Linked DNA regions of Homo sapiens: region 1 is linked to region 2. The links are contacts of gene promoters, found by promoter capture Hi-C in blood cells and fetal thymus (Javierre and others, 2016). All regions are on one chromosome and are shown on one strand. The core of a region is centred on a gene start or on the middle of the fragment in contact, and the rest is flanking DNA. Distances in the headings are between cores, read along the strand shown.

What was found. The method cuts DNA at HindIII sites, captures the fragments that hold promoters and counts their contacts. A CHiCAGO score of 5 or more calls a contact.
Region 1: the fragment with the promoter of ZNF764 here is called in contact with the fragment with the promoter of ZNF771 in region 2 in 2 of 17 cell types (megakaryocytes and fetal thymus); the score reaches 5.2 in megakaryocytes.

The regions. Positions count from the first base shown.
Region 1 is chr16:30,556,108-30,562,427 of GRCh38, forward strand. It overlaps ZNF764 (zinc finger protein 764), which reads right to left and starts at 2,267. Exons shown (of 3, transcript NM_001172679.2): 1 at 1,880-2,267; 2 at 1,626-1,739. The coding sequence starts at 2,075. RefSeq lists enhancers at 1,155-1,716, 2,257-2,396, 5,336-5,535, 5,556-5,705. The HindIII fragment of the contact is 20,167 bases long and covers 1-6,320 here.
Region 2 is chr16:30,404,955-30,411,978 of GRCh38, forward strand. ZNF771 (zinc finger protein 771) reads left to right here and starts at 2,652. Exons shown (of 3, transcript NM_001142305.2): 1 at 2,652-2,710; 2 at 3,091-3,240. The coding sequence starts at 3,100. RefSeq lists silencers at 2,376-2,555, 2,578-2,787, 4,622-4,711. The HindIII fragment of the contact is 8,204 bases long and covers 1,391-7,024 here.

The DNA of each region.
Region 1 (6,320 bases), core at 1,017-3,516, 150 kb after region 2:
CTGCTGAGAGATAAAGAGGGGAGAGTTCAGGCTCGGCTCATCCTGGTCCTTGAATCCCACAGCCCGCGTGGACAGGGACAGGCCTGCTGGATCCCCGGCTGCTCCTGGGAGATGGAGGAGTGACACCTGTTCCTCGGCTGCAGAGCCAGACAGAGCCGGGAGGGAGAGAACAGCCCATTCCGCCTCGGGGCTGGGGAAATGTCACGGTGGGGGAAGGGCAGAGATGACATGAACATCTGGGCCTGATCCAGAAGGAGGAACGGACACCTGAGGATGTTCCAGGCAGCAGGAACAGCACCAAGAAAGGCAGAACCAGGAGGGCATGGCCAAGTTCAGTGGGGCTGGATACTCTGCAAAGGCTGAGGGCAAGAAATGAAAGAAAAAAAGGGGGGCGGACGGGGAGAAAGGAACCAGCCTGCAGGTGAACGGCAGGGGTGGGTCCTGAGGTGGAGGTAGAGTCAACAGAGTTTAAGAGACTGGGCGTGGGGGCTCAAGGCGGTAATCCCAGCGCTTTGGGAGGTAGAGAAGGAGGATCAGCCTAGGATTTCAGGACCAGCCTGGGCAACACACCGAGAGCCAAGACCCCCTCTATAAAATATATATATTACATAACAATTTAAAACAATTAGGCCAGACGCAGTGGGTCACTTTGGAAGGCCGAAGCAGGCGAATCGCTTAGCTCCAGGAGTTAAAGACCAGCCTGGGCGACATAGTGAAACCCTGTCTCTACTAAAAATACAAAAAATTGGCTGGGCGCGGTGGCTCACGCCTGTAATCCCAGCACTTTGGGAGGCCGAGGCGGGCAGATCACAAAGTCAGAAGTTCGAGACCAGCCTGGCTAACATGGTGAAACCCCATCTCTACTAAAAACACAAAAACAAAATTAGCCGGGCGTGGTGGCGGGCGCCTGTAGTCCCAGCTACTGGGGAGGCTGAGGCGGGAGAATGGCGTCAACCAGGGAGGCGGAGCTTGCACTGAGCCGAGATGGCGCCACTGCACTCCAGCCTGCGCGACAGAGGAAGACTCTGTCTCAAAAAAAAAAAAAAAAATTAAGCAGGCTTGGTGGCGGGCGCCTGTAATCCCAGCTACTTGGGAGGTTGATACAGGAGAATTACTTGAACCTGGGAGTGGGAGGTTGCAGTGAACTGAGATGGCACCACTGCACTCCAGCCTGGGCAACGGAGTAAAACTCTGTCTAAAAAAAAAAATTACCCAGGCTTCGTGGCGAGCACCTGTACAGTCTTAGCTACTCTGGAGGCCCAGGTGGAAGGACTGCTTAAGCCCGGGAGTTCCAGGCTACAGTGAGCTATGATGCCGCCACTGCACTCAGCCTAGACAACAAAGCGAGACCCTGTCTCTAAAACAAAAACACCAAAAAAAGCCCCCAGAGTGTAGTGACCACGCAGAGGTGAGGACTCAGAGGCGGGTATGGCAGGGCCAGAGCCCCCATCACAGCTCCTTTCTAGGCTGCATCTGGGAGCCACGCAGGGGCTCAGCCTCGTCGTCGCAGTTGAGAAGGCAGTTCAGAGAGGAAACTGCTAAGCAGGTAGCTGGAGGTGGCAGAGGGTACCGGGATGGGACAGGAACAGAGAAGTCCCCATGGGACTGAGCACCCGATACTCCACCTGGGTCCGTTTGTGTCTGACATTTCGCCACCTCCGGATCCTGGGCAGCCGGACCCCACAGTTCGGCCTCCTCCTCCACCCAGGAGATGAGAGCTGGCTTGTTGCCTCCGATTCCTAGGGAAGAAGAACGCAAACCCCACGCTGCGGGGAGGCCACCTGCCCGGCCCCGGGGCCCCCAACTTCACGCGCAGCTCCCAGAGGCGCGGCAGGGCCTGTGGGGGCGCAGGGCTCAGGCGAGCAGGTGGGGCTCTCACCGAGAGCGCTCAGGTGGCCGTAGGTCTCCCGCATCACGTCCCGGTACAGGGCCCTCTGCGCTGGCCGCAAGCAGCCCCACTCCTCCCGGCAGAAGTACACGGCCACGTCCGCGAAGCTCACAGCCCCCGGCTCCCTCCACTCGGGTCCGGCCCCGTTTGGGTCCCGGGGAGGGAGCGGGGCCAGAGGCGGCGCCATGGTAACTGTCAACCCCGACGACGGATCGGCTGCCTCCCCTGGCCTGGCCTGGGCCTGCGGAACCTCCTGCGCCCGAGAAAGCCTCCCCGGCCCGGGCCCAAGGGAAGGAGGGAGGTTACTAGGGCCCCCGAGGGCGCACTAGAGGGCGTGGAAACTAACGGTGCCGATGGCAGCGGGTGTATAATCAGAAATGGAATATGCCCTCATAAAAAATGGCGGCGGCGCGGGTACTCGACCTTTGCCCCTACGCAGTCGTGCCCAAGACAACGCCCCCGGTATCTCCAGTCCGCGTTCTCTCCGTACCCTCATCCAAAATGGCCGCGGTGACTAATACAGAGGCCGGCCTTGAAAACTAGCCGCGCATGTTTAGTCCCCGGCCCGGCGAGGCGGTGCAGCAGAGAGCTCCGCCCCGGCCCGGCGAGGCGGTGCAGCAGAGAGCTCCGCCCCGGTTTGCACGAACAAAAGAGCGCCTCGCGGGAGTGAGCTGGCCTCCCGGCCTTACTGAACTCAGGCATTAGTTTTCGTTTGTGGACCGTTTTATAATCGGGCTCCAGCTCATCACTCTCTCGTTTTGTCCTTGTTATCTCAGAAACAGGGCAACAGCAGTCTCTTCCCAATGTTGAGTGTAAAAAAACCAATGGAGTGGGCGTGGCGCAGTGGCTCACGCTTGTAATCAGCAGTTTGGGAGGCCGAGGCCAGCGGAACAACTGAGGTCAGAAGTTCGAGACCAGCCTCACCAACATGGTGAAACCCCGTCTCCACTAAAAACACACAAAAAAACAGCCAGGTGTGGTGGCGTGCACCTGTAATCCCAGCTACTGGGGAGGCTGAGGCAGGAGTATCGCTTGAACGCGCGAGGCGGAGTTTGCAGTGAGCCGAGATTGCCTCACCGCACTCCAGCCTGGGCGACAGAGCGAAACTCTGTCTCAAAAATAAAAAAGAAAGAAAGAAAGAAAAAGGAGTGGATACAGGAGAACCTCCTCCATCGTAGGCTTGTTGGGGCCTGAAATTCTGGAAGTTTCTAGATGGCGGAGGCAGTGGGGAGAGTAGGGTAAGGTTGAGAAAGTCAGAGGGTCCTCTCTTCTAGGAGCTTCTCCCATGTGCTGCTCAGGACGCCTCCCAATTGCCAGTCTCCCTGTAGCTGCAGCCGGGCTCTCACCTCCCCTCACATCCTGCCCCTGGACAGATGGCCCAAGGCTCCTCTACTCAAATCCAACTCATCCCTTTCTTGCCCCAATCTGCTTCCCCTAGGGTCTTTATCTAGTAAATGTCACCAACTCTCCCCCAGACCTCTCTCTCACTTTCTGATGGTCTATTCTGTGCTCCACGTGACTTCATACATGTCCTGTTGTAGCAGGACAAGCCACAGACAAAACCCCTCAGACACCGAGTTGAAGGAAGGGTTTTATTCGGCTGGGAGCATCGGCAAGACTCACATCTCAAAAACCGACTCCCCGAGTGAGCAATCCCTGTCCCTTTTAAGGGCTCACAACTCTAAGGGGGTCCCCGTGAGAGGGTCGTGATCCATTGAACAAGCAGGGGATATGTGACTGGGTGCTGCAGGCACTGGTAATTAGAACAGGACAGGACAGGACAGGGATTTTCACAGTGCTTTTCTATACAATGTCTGTAATCTATAAATAACAAAACTGATTAGGTCAGAGGTCGATCTTTACCAGGCCCAGGGTGTGGCGCCAGGCTGTCTGCCTGTGGATTCCATTTCTGCCTTTGAGTTTTTACTTCTTCTTTCTTTGGAGGCAGAAATTGGGCGTAAGACAATATGAGGGATGGTCTCCTCCCTTACTGTGTATGGGAGTCAGAGTTGCCTCCAACTGCCTTTTAGCTCTTGGTGGGCTCTTTAGTTGAATGTAGGCCCAGATTGAGAATCGCCTGTAATGCTAACTACTGGGAGGCAAAGGCAGGAGGATCCCTTGAGCCCAAGAGTATGAGATCAGCCTGGGCAAGTTAGTGAAACCCTATCTTCAAAAAATAAAAATAAAAATAAACTAAAGTAAAATAAGAACAAATGAATTGACAGTGGACAAACGAGAAAATTATACCAATTGTATTAGTTTTACATGTACATGGGGATCTTCACAAGAGAGGGAAGTCAGAAAAAGTGCCCAAAGCCAGGTGCTTTTATATTTTTTAGACAAAGAACAATAAAATTTCAGTGGGCAGACGCGGTGGCTCATGCCTGTAATCCCAGCACTTTGGGAGGCCGAGGTGGGCAGATCACTTGAGGTCAGGAAACCCCGTCCTTACTAAAAATTAAAAAAAAAAAGGTAGCTGGGGGTGGTGGTGGGTTCCTGTAATCCCAGCTACTCAGGAGGCTGAGGCAGGAGACTCACTTGAACCTGGGAGGCAGAGGTGGCAGTGAGCCAAGATTGAGCCACTACACTCCAGCCTGGGCGGGAGAGAGACTTCGTTTAAAAAAAAAAGAAGAAGAGGGCCGGCCCGGTGGCTCATGCCTGTAATCCCAGCACTTTGGGAGGCTGAGGTGGCCGGATCACGAGGTCAAGAGATCGAGACCATCCTGGCCAACATGGTGAAACCCCGTCTCTACTGAAAATACAAAAATGAGCCAGGCATGGTGGTGCGTGCCTGTAGTCCCAACTACTTGGGAGGCTGAGGCAGGAGAATAGCTTGAACCCGGGAGGCAGAGGTTGTAGTGAGCCGAGATTGCGCCACTGCACTCCAGCCTGGGCGACAGAGCAAGACTCGGTCTCAAAAATAAAAAATAAAAAATAAAAGAAAGAAAGAATAAAAGAAAAAAGAAATGACAGGACAAAGAAAATTTGGCTAGGGCAGTGAGTAACTAGAATATGTATCAGGGGGTTGTCAAACAGGTACAAGATACAGATGACTTTGTTACGTATGTTTATTCTGGTCCCTTGTGGCTTCTCAGGGCTGTTTTCTTGCCCTGGTACAGAAGGATACTCCCCCAGAGTAAGGTTTCTGGCATGCTCCATGCAGAAGAAACAGGTCGGATTGCTCCTTCTGAAACTACAATTTCTCTGTTTTTAACTCAGAATATATCAGTATACCAGGCTGTGAATGTTTTACAGGAGGTCCAGGGGAGCCCCTGTGGAGGAGCCTGGAGGGAACTTCAGGGAGGGTGATCTGGCGGGAATCTCAGGAAACAGCTCAACCTGCCGCATAAGTGAGGAGAGCCACTTCTTTCCCTTTTCGGGGATCCGGGTGGGGCGGGCGCCGCTGAGCGCGTCTAGGTGGCCGCAGGTCGCGGCATCGCGTCCCGGATCAGGACGCGAACATCCCTATACCGCAGACACCCCCACTGCGCCAGGAAGCGGCAGTCGGCCGTTTCCGCGGAGCTCTCGGTCCTCAGACACTTTCCCAGTCTCCGTCCCTTCCACCTTCCCTGGTTCATTGGCTTGGAGCCATGAGCGCGGCCAGTGGCTCCGCGGCTCCCGGAGGGACGCTGGGGGTTTGCCCTGGGAGTAGGGTGCAGGAGGTTCCACGGACGCCTCGACGACCGGTAGTAGCTTCGGGTGGGGCCTAGAGAGGACGGCGAGCAACTCTGTGGTTCCGGAGTCCAGAAAAATGAAAGCGCTCTTAGAAAAGATGGCTGGCGGCTGGGCACGGTGGCTCACGCCTGTAATCCCAGCACTTTGGGAGGCCGAGGCGGGTGGATCACTTGAGGTGAGGAACTCAAGACCAGCCTGACCAACGTGGTGAAACTCCGTCTCTACTAAAAATACAAAAATTAGCCGGGCATAGTGGCACACGCCTGTAATCCCAGCTACTTGGGAGGCTGAGGCAGGAGAAGCGTGTGAACCCGGGAGGCAGAGGTTGAAGTGAGCTGAGGTCGTGCCACTGCACTCCAGCCTGGGTGACAGAGTGAGATTCTTGTCTCAAAAAAAAAAGAAGAAGAAAAGATGGCTGGCGACAGTCCAGCTTCTCTTCATTTTAGAGAAAGGCATTGAACAGCTTGAATATCGATCCGGTGTTGCTGACCTAGTTTGTTCCTGCTGGAAAAGTCTTCTCTTGCTGTTCCTCCCAGGCGGCCTTGGCAGCGCCTCTTGCCCGTAGTTAAGATGGGTGCGGCCGCTTTGACCTGGGCTCAGGCAGGTGGCAGCAAAGGCTGCAGGGGAGGGGAAACCGGTCCAAGATTCTCGACCGAGGGCCTGACGTCCCCTTCCCAGTCCCTTAGAGGAGGCCCTTCGAGGAGGCCCACTCAGTGACGGAGTCTTTTTTTTTTTTTTTTTTTTGAGACAGAGTCTC
Region 2 (7,024 bases), core at 1,402-3,901:
CACTCCAGCCTGGGAGACGGAGCAAGACTCCGCCTCAAAAAAAAAAAAAAATTAGCTGAGTGTATGGCGCGCACCTGTAATCTCAGCTACTCGGGAGGCTGAGGCAGGAGAATCCCTTGAACCCGGGAGGTGGAGGTTGCAGTGAGCTGAGATCATGCCACTGCACTCCAGCCTGGGTGATAGAATGAGACTCCATCTCAAAAAAAAAAAAAAAATTGTATCCTGAGACACCTTCCCTGCCTGCATTAAAGAAGCCCCTGTTACCATAGCTGCTCCCTGTTGGATCATCTTGTCAGATTTGCCCCGTTGCACCTATCATTATCTGATATTATCTTCCTCTTTACATGTGTACATTTGTTTGCACCCTTAGTAGTGTCACAAGAGCCACTATTTTTATCTGTTTTGTTCACTACTACATCCCCCATACCTAGAAGGGTGACGGGTATATAGGACTCAATAAATACCCAGAGAGGCCAGGCGTGGTGGCTCAAGCCTGTAATTCCAGCACTTTGGGAGGCCAAGGTGGGTGGATCACGAGGTCAGGGGTTTGAGACCAGCCTGGCCAAGATGGTGAAACCCCGTCTCTACAAAAAATACAAAAATAGCCCGGTGTGGTGGTGTGTGCCTGTAATCCTAGCTACTTGGGAGGCTGAGGCAGGAGAATCACTTGAACCTGGGAAGCGGAGGTTGCAGTGAGCCTAGACTGTGCTATTGCACTCCAACCTGGGCGACAGAGCAAGACTCCATCTCAAAAAAAAAAAAAAAAAAAAAAAAAAACTCAGAGAATGAATGCAAAGTGGCTTTTGGGGATCCTGTGTGTGAGTATCCAGGCATTTGACCCCTTCTCCCAGCTCTGGGAAAGAGCCAGTTTTATAACTTCATTCCTGAGAGGTAATTTGGTGCAATAGAAGAGCACAAGCTTTGAATCTGCTGCTTGCCAGCTGTGTGACTTTGAGCAAATTACTTAACTTGTCTAAGCTTCCGTTTCTTCTTTTGTCCAATGGAGATATTATTGATCCCAACAGGGCTGTTGTAAAGAGACAACATAGAACTTGTAAGCACTTACTGAATGTTATTTCTGTTTTCCTTCATGATTTCTGAATCTTAGTTGCCCCATTCATAAAATGGGAAAATTAGATATCTGCTTTTTCAAGGGAAGTGGCTGTTTTTCAAAGGAAGTGGCATTTGTTTATTCCACTAAAAAAAAATCTATTTTTATATGAAATATCCCAATTTAATTTTTTTTTTCTTGAGACGGAGTTTCGCTCTTGTTGCCTAGGCTGGAGACCAATGGCATGATCTCGGCTCACTGCAACCACTGCCTCCCCAGTTCAAGCAATTCTCGTGCCTCAGCCTCTCGAGTAGCTGGGATTACAGGCATGCACCACCAAGCTTGGCTAATTTTTGTATTTTTAGTAGAGACGGGGTTTCACCATGTTGGTTAGGCTGGTCTCGAAATCCTGACCTCAAGTGATCCACCGGCCTCCGCCTCCCAAAGTGCTGGGATTACAGGCATGAGCCACCGCGCCCGGCTTTGAAACGATTTTTTTTTTTTTTTTTTTTTTTTTTTTTTGAGACGGAGTCTCGCTCTGTCGCCCAGGCTGGAGCGCAGTGGCGCGATCTCGGCTAACTGCAAGCTCGCCTCCCGGGTTCACGCCATTCTCCTGTCTCAGCCTCCCGAGTAGCTGGCACTACAGGTGCCCGCCACCACGCCCAGCTAATTTTTTGTATTTTGTTTAGTAGAGTCGGGGTTTCACCGTGTTAGCCAGGATGGTCTCTATCTCCTGACCTCGTGATCCGCCCGCCTCGGCCTCCTAAAGTGCTGGGATTACAGGCGTGAGCCGCCGTGCCCGTCCGAAAAGATTTTTTAAAAGTAAAAATACCCTAAGGGCCAAACAAGGTACCCCTGTGGACTGGATTTAGCTTTGGGCTGTTGTTCACCTAGGCTACTGATTGTCAGGGATGCTATGACATCCTTATCGTGTAACTTAGGCAAATCAGTTTACCTCCCTGAACTTCAGTGAGCTCATCTGTAAAATGGATCAGGACCCATCGTTATGCGGATCAAATGAGACCAGGTATGTAAGACGCTGAACAGCGCTGGCGCATGGTAAGCACCCCACGCATGACGCGACAGCGGTAGCTTGGGTGGATGTTGAATTGGTTAGGATGTATTCAAGGATATCCCAGAGGCCAGCGGAATAGGCGAAGCCGAGAAAGATGGAGAAAAGACGGCAGAGGAGATAAAGAGGGAATGGAAGAAGTGAGGAGGCAACAGGGTCCGCCCTCCAGGCGGGGCGCCAGGGAGAGGCCCAGGCCGGGGCGGGAGCGCACGTGGCCTATTTCGGGCGGAGCAGAGGCACTGGGCGCAGCGGAGACCTCCAAGCCGGCCCCAGGAGACGGGCCGCGAGGTTAGGTTGGAACTCGGCGGCAAGGACCTTGAACGCCGGGCTGGGGCGGCTCCAGGTGCTTGGGAGTCGGGGGACTGCGGAGGACGCCAAGTCTGAGCTCGCCGCCCTCTCCGAGCCGTTTGGGCCGGACGCCTGGGTCCTTCGGGCTCCGCCCCAGGGGGTGGGGCTATATGTTCGGACCAATGACCGGCCGTCCCTGCGGTCCCGCCCCCTCCCCGCCCCCGGAGCCGCGGCCTCGCTGAGTGCCCAGCCGCCCGGCGCCCAGGCCTGGGGCACCGCGAGTGCCGAACCTTCGGCTGGTGAGTGCGCACCCCCTCCCCGGGGTTTCCGCCCCGATCCCGCCTCCAGCCCGTGCCCCAGAGCTCCAGGTCGCCGACCCGGGCCCTGGGGAGTGACTCAGCGCAAGGATGGTGGCGACTTGCGGGGGCTGGAGATTCGAACTGTTCAAGGCCTTGAATGCTGGGATGAGTGGGGTGAACGCGAGCCCTCGGAGCTGGTCCCGGGGCTGTGCCAGAGCGTGGGGCCGGGCTGGGGTGGACGGGAGAGGACCAGATTCGGAGACCAGGGCAGGGCGGGAGAAGCCACGGCTGCACTGCCTTGCTGGGCCAGGGCCACGGTGGGCGGGGGGGGGGGTGGGGGGGGGCGGGTCCTGAGCTTCTGATCCAGCTCCCCGCCTCAGGACACCAAGATGCCTGGCGAACAGCAGGCAGAGGAAGAGGAGGAGGAAGAGATGCAGGAGGAGATGGTGCTGCTGGTGAAGGGTGAGGAGGATGAGGGTGAGGAGAAGTATGAGGTGGTGAAACTCAAGATCCCCATGGACAACAAGGAGGTATGTGTCACACACACCCTGGGGCACACTGTCCCCAAACCTGGTCCAGGCCCAGCCTCCCTCAGATAGAAGCCAGGGATCTTGCCCCTACTTTTCCCAGAATCTCGGATCTAAAACCTCAGGATTGGCCCATCCTTCTGCCCTACTGCCTGGGCTTCCATCATACAAAAGTCACGCCTACTGTCCCAGGCTTCCTGCTGGGTGCAGGAGATTAAACTCCGTCCTTGGATCCCCCATGGAGCTTGATGTTAGACTGAAGGGTAACCACACAGTTAGAATCCCGTGTGATGGCTGCAGGTACAGGGGGATGATGAAGCCTAGAAGTGGGAACTTAACTCAGATTTAGAGGTTGGGGAAAGGTCAGGTTAGTTCAACAGCAACAGTAACAATAGCTAACCCTTGCCTAGCATTTTCTATGTGCCAGGCACTGTTCTAAGCACCTCGATTCTATGATGTCGGTAGCATTTATTCCATTTTACAGATGAGGAGACTGAGGCCCAGGGCAGTTTGGTAACTGGCCACAGGTCTCAAAGTAAAAGGATGGCTTATGTGAGACTAGTAGGAGTCTGGGGTCAGAAGTGGGGTGATGGACCCAGTCAGAGGAAATGGCTCTTTTATTATTACTGTTGTTATTGTTTGAGACAGGGTCTCATTCAGTCACCCAAGCTGTAGTGCAGTACAGCTCACTGCAGCCTTGACTTCCCTGGGCTCAGGTGATCCTCCCACCTCAGCCTCCCAAGTAGCTGGGACTACAGGCATGCACCACTACACCTGGCTAATTTTTTTTTGTTTTGTTTTGAGACAGAGTTTCGCTCTGTTGCCCAGGCTGGAGTGCAGTGGCGTGATCTCGGCTCACTGCAGCCTCCACCTCCCGGGTTCAAGTGGTTCTCCTACCTCAGCCTCCCAAGAAGCTGGGATTACAGGCATGCACCACCACGCCCGGCTAATTTTTTGTATTTTCAGTAGAGTTGGGGTTTTGCCATGTTGGCCAGACTGGTCTCAAACTCCTGAGTTCAGGTGATCCTCCCACCTCAGCCTCCCAAAGTGCTGGGATTATAGGTGTGAGCCACCGTATCCAGCCAGAAATGGCCCTTATAGAGGCTCAGACGAGTGAGTAGTGCACTGCAGCAGTGAGGGTGGGTGGTTCGGTCATGCTGTAGTGTGGATGAGTGGGGGTGGTTGGCAGGCCACACAGGGAGTCTGGCTTTTATTCTGAGGGTATTTGAAGGTTTTGAGATCAGAATATGAGTTAAATTTCACCCCCTGGAGACCCTAACTGCCACCAGATACGTTTCCGCTTCTCAGAACCCCAGAGGATTCTGTCTGCCCCCAGCCTGAGCAGCCCTGAGTACCAGCAGAGGGCTTTGGCCCCAGGGACCCAGCTTGCAGGGGCCGGGACTCTGATTCTTCCTGCCCAGGAGCCAGTTCCCAGGGAAAGAATGCTCTGCTGCCCCCTAGTGGGCCTGCTGGGTGCTGGGGGAGGGGACTAGCTCCTTAGGCCTCTGGATAGTCTAATAACTATCTGGTTGTGTTTGTTGCGGGCCCCCTTCGCCCATTATCCAGCTCTGCCTGCCTCTTCTGGCCCTGCGATTGCCTGATCTCCACCTTTGGCCTCTAAGTTACAAACACAGGCTCCAGAGCTTAGGGTGGACTTCCAGCTCCATCATTTACCCGCTGTGTGACCTTGGCCAAGTTTCCTAACCGCTCCACGCCTCAGTTTCCTCATTTGTAAAAGGGAAATTATAACAGCACCTACATCTTGGAGTTGTGAGGAATGAATGAGTCAACACATGCACAGAGTTAGAACTGTGTCTGGCACAAAATAAACACGGAAATAGTTGCTGTTACATTTATTCTTCTCCCCAAAGCTCAGGACCTTGGGCAAGGTCATCCTTCTTGAGATTTTTCAACTTTTTTTTTTTTTTTTGAGACGGAGTCTCACTATGTCGCCCAGGCTGGAGTGCAGTGGCGCAATCTTGGTTCACCGCACCTCCACCTACCGGGTTCATGCCATTCTCCTGCCTCAGTCTCCTGAGTAGCTGGGATTATAGGTGCGCACTACCATGCCCAGCTAATTTTTGTATTTTTAGTAGAGGTGGGGTTTCACCATATTGGTCAGGCTGGTCTCGAACTCCTGACCTCATGATCCGCCCGCCTCGGCCTCCCAAAGTGTTGGGATTACAGGCGTGAGCCACCACGCCTGGCTCAACTCATTTTTATCAAAGGCCTGGGCTGAACCATGAGAACTGGGGTTGATCAGGGAAGTGAATGTGGGGGCACAGAGGATTGAAGACAAACGACTCAAGGCAGTGGGGAAGGCTTCCCAGAGGAGATGATTTTTGACTTGGGCCTTGAAGGCTTTGCAGGGGTTTGGCACATGGAGGAGGAGGAAGGGCATTCCAGGAGGAGGAAACAGCAAAAACAAAGACTCAGAGGAAATGAGACTGGAAAGGCAGTTGGGGGACAGAGGGGCCTTGCAAGCTAGGGCAGGACGTACTGTGTTAGGTTCTGTGGCACCATAAGAAGCCTTAAATCATGGGAAGAGCCAGGCGTGGTGGCTCACACCTGTAATCCTAGCACTTTGGAAAGCCAAGGTGGGAGGATCACTTGAGCCCAGGAGTTCGATTCCTCCCTGGGCAACATAGGGAGACCTCATCTCTACAAAAAAAAAAAAAAAAAAAAAAAAAAAGTTTAATTAGCTGGGCATGGTGGCATGCCTGTAGTCCTAGCTACTCTGGAGGCTGAATGATCCCAGGAGTTCAAGGCTGCAGTGAGCCATGACTGCACCACTGTACTCCAGCCTGGGCAACAGAGAGAGACCCTGTCTCAAAAAACAAAAACAGGCCAGGCGTGGTGGCTCATGCCTGTAATCCCAGCACTTTGGGAGGCTGAGGCGGGCGGATCACTTGAGGTCAGGAGTTCGAGACCAGCCTTGCCAACATGGTGAAACCCCATCTCTACTAAAAATACAAAAATTAGCCGGGTGTGGTGGCACCTGCTTGCAATCCCAGCTACTTGGGAGGCTGAGGCAGGAGAATCGCTTGAATCTGGGAGGCGGAGGTTGCAGTGAGCTGAGATTGCACCGCTGCACTCCAGCCTGGGCAACAGAGCAAGATTCCATCTCAAAAAAAAAAAAAAATCAGAGGAGGGACATGATTGGATTTTCTGTTTAGAAGAATTATTGGCTGCTACAGGGAGCCCAGGCCAGGTAGGGCCTGCTCTAAGGTAGTAACAGCAATGATGAGGAAAAGGGGCCATTTAGGAACCTGGCTAGAGCCAAGGGGTATGTGCGGTGAAGGTCTGACATGGCTAGTCATGAAAGGCACACAGGGCCAGATTGTGAATGGTATCATGTAGCGGTCGTAACTCCACCGTTTACCAGCTTTTCTTTGGCTTTCTCATCTGTAAAATGGGGTAATAGAGTAAGACCCCTGAATGCCAGTCTGAGAAGTGTCATCAAGGTGACTAGATTTGGAGGAGATGGGTGGAATTGAGGATTATGCACACATATCCCATGAACTGTTAGCATCGTGCCCAGAAGGGTGCTCGATCGTTAGCTTGCTGTGGGCCTTCCTGAGCCTCATTTCTCCATCTATGAAATGGTGACCTCGAAAACACCTTCCAGTGGTGACATTCAGTGAGTCCTAGCTATTGCCAGTCCTGTGGCCAGTCACTGTCCAGAAGGGCCTTAATTACGCTGCATGCAGGGGCTGGAGTATTCTCCCTCTGCCATCAAAACCCAATCTATCTTTTAGAAAGATTTTCTGAGGGCTCCATGCACATC